Linked DNA regions of Homo sapiens: region 2 is linked to region 1. The links are contacts of gene promoters, found by promoter capture Hi-C in human tissues and cell types (Jung and others, 2019). All regions are on one chromosome and are shown on one strand. The core of a region is centred on a gene start or on the middle of the fragment in contact, and the rest is flanking DNA. Distances in the headings are between cores, read along the strand shown. Region 1 holds the start of SPAST (spastin). Region 2 overlaps SPAST (spastin).

Region 1 (2,940 bases), core at 224-2,723:
AAAAAGTTAGCTTAAAAGAAACCCGAAAGATGTAGTATCCTTGCTTTCATTCAGAAACATACATAGTTGTTTTAGGTTTTACTGTAAAGTGGTATGTTTAAGTTTACGCAATCCATTCATCAAACATTTCAACTTGGAAATTAAAGGCTACTTTGGAATACTGTTTTAATTAAAATCAAAGCAACAGGGGGAAAAGTTTTATGCTAAATATAACTTCATTGAAAAAGTATTCAGGAATCGTTGTACTGATAAAATGATTATCTTGATTAAAATGATGCAAATTCAACTGCAGTCATATGCAGCTATTTCTTTCAAAATTGTCACCATTTGTTCTTTTTTTCTGACACTACAATACTCTGCTTTCATTAAAAGCCAGTAAGGCGGCACTGCTTCTTCAATATCAAAACCTTTTGGAAACCTTGGTTCAGAGGAAGCTGCACACTCTTCACAGTGCTAGAAAGGATCAGTGTGGTCACTCTAGGACAAATGTCACTGTCATCAACACGTCTGGGTGTCTCATAGTGACCTGGGTCATGCAGAAGTGTGGGGGAAGGCTGGTGTCTGAAACAAAGTCGACAGCTACAGTGCCCTGAAAGGGGAGAGGTTTTAAGAATACTAGAAGATGAGGCTCCGACCTACGGGAAAGCAGTCTCCCGGGGCATATCAATTCCGGGGGTGCACCGTCCCCTCCCGCAGAAAAGGGACGCAGGTGTTGCCCTCCCCCGGCGACCCCACCGCCTTCTTCCCGGCGCCGCCGCCCCCTCCCCCAGCCCCCTAGTTACCTTTCTCATCCTCATCGATGCGCAGGGCAATGGAGATGTACTCGAAGGCCTGTTTGTGGAAGACTCGGACGCGCTCGGCCTCGCCGCCCGGCACCGGCGCCGGGGCCGAGGCCGAGGCAGGTGCTGGCGCGGCCCCGGAGCTCCTCTTGGCTGCCATGAGGGCGCGGGAGAAGCGCTGGCAGAGCCACACGAAGAGGAGCCCCAGGTGGAAGGCGACCAAACGCAGCAGCGCGAAGCCTACAAACAGCGGGTAGGAGAAATAGTACAGGTTCCGCTTATGCGGCGACTCGGGCGGAGGGGCCGGCCCGGCGGCGGGAGGGGCGGGGGCCAGGCAAGGGGGCGGAGGCCTGGGAGGCACCGGGTTGCTGGCGCCGCCGGAGCCTTTCTTCTTCCCTCGTCCACCCGGAGAATTCATTCACAGCTCTCACTGCCGCCGCCGCCATAACCCGCCTCCCGCAGACCGACGGGAACCAAGCGACGGCGGCAGCCACTGCTACGGCGGGGGCCACAGACCCCCGTGTGCCCGCCGGTCTCAGGAGCTCCGCACTGCCGCACGCTGCCCGCCGGCCCCGCCCCTTTCTCCTTCCTCGGCCAGGAGCACAACCCCTTCTCCTCCTGCAGTCGGTGGCTCGGGCCCCTCCCTTCCTGTCGCTGTCCTCTCCGCCGCCTGGTGGCTCCCAGCGGCGGCCGCGCACGCGCACGTCTTCCCGTGTTTTTCTCCGGCGCGCGCGCGCACGGCGCGTCTTTGTTGACCGGGGCCCCTGTACGCGTGTGCGGCCCCCGCCTCTCGGCTTTCCCACTCAACTACAGTTCCCAATGTGCAGTTCGGCTCACGTCGGCAGCCCTGGAGAGCTCCTGCCAGGAAGCCTTCGTAATCGATCCACGGAAGGGGGAATTGCGGCTTGGGGTCGCTCTGCTGGTTCGCTAGGCTCCTCTCTCAGTGTCGTCGTTTTCTTAGATTTCTTTCATCTTTTTCTGCCAGGCGACCTAAGTCTTCTCCGAAGGATAATTGGCCCATCTCAGAAGCAATGGATATCAATCTGGGAATTAAATTAGCCGGGCGTGGGGGCGCGCGCCTGTAGTCCCAGCTGGTTGGAAGGCTAAGGCCGGAGAATCGCTTGAACTCGGGAGGCAGAGGCTGCAAGTGAGCTGAGATCGCGCCACTGCACTCCAGCCTGGGCGACAGAGCGAGACTCCGTCTCCAGAAAAAATAAAATAAAAATTTAAAATCTGGGAATTATTTGAGAGGAAAGCAATTGTGAAGATAAGAAACTTCAGGTCACTGCAAACAACAGCAACAAAAATGTTAGCTCAGTGTGATGAGATCAACTAACCCAGGGGTTTAACTAAATTAGTGCATATTTAGATGTCTAATATGAAAGATAATTTATTTGAATAAGGGAAATCTTAGGTTTTGCATAGTTACCATCCCATAGTTTACTGAAGAATCTACACTTTTTTTTTAATCTACTCAGCATCCCTTCCTTTGGGAAACTACCTGCTTGTCTCTGCTCCCTGTATTCTAATGAGCTGCAAGCACAGAACCCAGACCGCAAAGGCGGAAGCAAACACTAGGTCAGTCAGATTCTCCTGGGACCTGGAATCTTGGCTGGAGACCCACCGAATAGAAAGTAACTGGAAACGAGTGCTCTTAAGAGCGGGTTTATCAATGCATCACATTGAGCTCCCCCAGAGCTGCTGGGTTCCTGACTGGTCACTTGGTTATGTAATCTATCCAATACACTAATCAGTCTGTTTCTCTGTTTCTCTCTTCCTCTCTCCTTTCCCCCTTCCTTCCTTTCGTCTTTTCCTCTCTCTCCCTCTCTCTCTATCTCCACGTCTTTTTTCTCTTCTCTTTCTCTTTTTACTTGAGTTAGCCATAATTATTTCTTGTTTCCTAAAACTAAGGAAGCCAAACTGATAAAAAGACTCCGTTATTTACAATGTGAGGTTTCCAAATGCCCCATGAGAGCTTCCAGCTTCCAAGAATCTCCACATTCTGCCACAGCTTTATTTTTTTATTTTTTGGACAGGGTTTCACTCCATTGCCCAGGCTGGAGTGCAGTGGCGCAAACAACATGACTCACTGCAACCTCCACCTCCCTGGCTCAGGTGATCCTTCCACCTCAGCCTCCCGAGTAGCTGGGATCACAGGCAC
Region 2 (2,940 bases), core at 248-2,747, 60 kb before region 1:
GACTGCTTCCAAGTTTTGGCAACTATGAATAATGCTGCTAGAAATATTCATGTGCAGTTTTTTTTATTGGATGTACATTTTAAACTTATTTGGGTAAATACTAAGGAGTAAGACTGCTGGACCATATGGTAAGAGTTTTGTAAGAAACTGTCAAACTGTCTTTAGTTCTGTAAAAAACTGTCCAACTACCTTCCAAAATGGTTCTACCATTTTAGATTTCCATCAGCAATGAATTAAAGTTTCTGCTGCTCCACATCCCTGCCAGAATTTGGTGTTGTCAGTGTTTTAGATTTCAGCCATTCTAATAGGGATGGCAGGGTATCTTGTTGTTGTTTTAATGCGCAATTTCCCTAACGACATGATGTTGAGCATATATTCATATGCTTGTTGTCATCTATCTATCTTCCTTGGTGAGGTGTCTGTTCAGATATTTTGCCCATTTATTAACTGGGTTGTATATTTTCTTATTGTTGAGTTTTAAAAGTTCTTTGTATATTTTGGATACTGGTCCTTCATCAGATAATGAATTTTGTAAAGTCTCCCACTCTGCTGCATGTCTTTTCATTCTCCTAACAGCATCTTACACAGAGCAGAAGTTTATAATTTAAACAAAGTTCAACATACTGATTTTTTTTTTCAAGGATCATGTTTTGGTATTGTACCTAAGAAGTCACTGCCAAACCAAAAATTTTTCTCATGTTATCCTAGATTTTCTCCTATGTTATCCTCTAGAAGTTTCAGTTCGCATGTTACATTTAGGTCTATGATCCATTTATTTTTGTGAAAGTTGTCAGGTCTGTGTCTAGATTAACTTTTTTGCATGTGGATGTCCAGTTGTCCTATACCATTTGTTGAAAAGGCTATCTTTTCTCCACTGAATTGTCTTTGTCCCTTTGCCAAAGATCAGTTGACTTTATCTGTGTGGGTTGATTTCTAGGCTCTCTGTCCAATTCTACTGATTTATTTGTCTATTCTTTTGCCAATGACATGCTGTCTTGATTAATGTAGCTTTACAGTAAGTCTTGAAATTGGGTAGTTTCAGTCCTCTGACTTTTTTCTTCTTCAATACTGTGTTGGCTGTTCTAGGTCTTTTGCCTTTTCATATAAACTTTAGTTTGCCAGTATCCACAAAATAACTGGCTGGGGTTTGACTGGGACTGCACTGAATCGATATATGAACTTGGGAAGAACTGACATCTCAATAATATTTAGTCTCCCTGTCCATTTACATGGAATATCTCTCAGTTTACTTAGATCTTTGATTTCTTTCATGAGTGCTATAATTCTTCTCATATAGATCTTCTACAACAAACTTTGTTAGAACTACACATATTTCATTTTATTAGTGTTAATATGAAAGGTATTGTGTTTTTTTTTTTGAGACGGAGTCTTGCTCTGTCCCCCAGGCTGGAGTGCAATGGCGCGATCTTGGCTCACTGCAACCTCTGCCTCCTGGGTTCAAGCGATTCTCCTGCCTCAGCCTCCTGAGTAGCTGAGATTACAGGCACCCGCCACCATGCCCAGCTAATTTTTGTATTTTTAGTAGAGATGGGGTTTCACCATATTGGTCAGGCTGGTCTTGAACCCCTGACATCAGGTGATCTGCCCACCTCGGCCTCCCAAAGTGCTGGGATTACAGGTGTGAGCCACTGCACCCAGCAGTATTGTGTTTTAATTTCAAATTCCAGTTGTTCACTGCTGGTAGATAAAAAAGCAATTGACTTTGTATATTAACTTTGTATTCTACACCTTGTCATAATCACTTATTAGTTCTAGGAGCTCTTTTTGTTGGTTCTTTGGGATTTTCTACATATGCAATCATGTTATCTGCAAACAAAGATATTCATCTATTTTTTTTTTTTAAATATAGATGGGGTTTCACTACATTGCCCAGGCTGGTGTCGAACTCCTGGACTCAAGCAATCTTCCTGCCTTGGCCTCTGAAAGTGCTGGGATTATAGGTGGGAGCCACCATGCCTATCCCTCAACTGTTTTTGACCTATAAAAACAGTAATTTCAGCCCAGGTGTGGTGGCTCATACCTGTAATCCCAGCACTTTGGGAGGCCAAGGCAGGTGGATCACCTGAGGTCAGGAGTTCGAGACTAGACTGGTCAACATGGCAAAACCCCGTCTCTACTAAAAATACAAAAATTAGCCAGGCGTGGTGGTGCATGCCTATAATCCCAGCTACTTGGGAGGCTGAGGCATGAGAATTGCTTGAACCTGGGAGGCAGAGGTTGCAGTGAGCCAAGATCATGCTAAGGCACTCCAGCCTGGGCAACAGAGTGAGACTCTGTCTCAAAACAAAACAGAAAACAAAACAAAACCTAGTAATTTCACATGGCTCAACCTAACAGAAAACAAAGTCGTCTCCTCCCACCCATTTTCTGGAACACCAATAGTCAAGCTTGTATTCTCCAAACAAGAGACTAGAAAATTCTTTTCTAGAGAAGCCAAATAACCCCAGAAAAAAAAGACTGACAGCTATAGCCATTTGGAGAAACCCAAATAAACAGTAGGCTTGCTGCTTGATCATCCTGTGATTAATGGGCTCTCACTATCAACAATTTACTTACTTACAGCACAGAGTCCTAATCAACTTTTTTATTGTTCCACGTAATATAAGTGGACAACCAGAATAACCAGACATTTGAGAGAAGCTTCCAATATGAAAAAGCTTAAGGCAAAAAGAAAAGAGGAGGAATCTTGAAGAAACAGATAATAAAGTAAACAAAAGAAAACTTGACAAAACCTCTCAGAGACATAAAAGACACTGCATCTATGAAATCAGAATAGGGCTGGGCACGGTGGCTCATGCCTGTAATCCCAGCACTCTGGGAGGCCAAAGCAGGTGGATCACCTGAGGTCAGGAGTTTGAAACCAGCCTGGCCAACATGGTGAAACTCCGTCTCTACTAAAAATACAACAATTAGCCGGGC

The links. Contacts are between HindIII fragments. The study calls those that stand out against the background at their distance.
Region 2: a fragment that was not itself captured here is called in contact with the fragment with the promoter of SPAST in region 1 in 1 of the 25 tissues and cell types used here (hippocampus).

What each region holds. Positions count from the first base shown.
Region 1 is chr2:32,062,089-32,065,028 of GRCh38, reverse strand. It overlaps SPAST (spastin), which reads right to left and starts at 1,473. Exons shown (of 17, transcript NM_014946.4): 1 at 783-1,473. The coding sequence starts at 1,197. RefSeq lists silencers at 610-739, 770-1,189, 1,250-1,389 and enhancers at 761-1,561, 1,610-1,679. The HindIII fragment of the contact is 21,143 bases long and covers 1-2,940 here.
Region 2 is chr2:32,121,701-32,124,640 of GRCh38, reverse strand. The region is part of intron 7 of SPAST (spastin); the gene reads right to left. Among named protein-coding and RNA genes, the nearest start is that of SLC30A6-DT, 43 kb to the left of the region's middle. The HindIII fragment of the contact is 5,069 bases long and covers 1-2,940 here.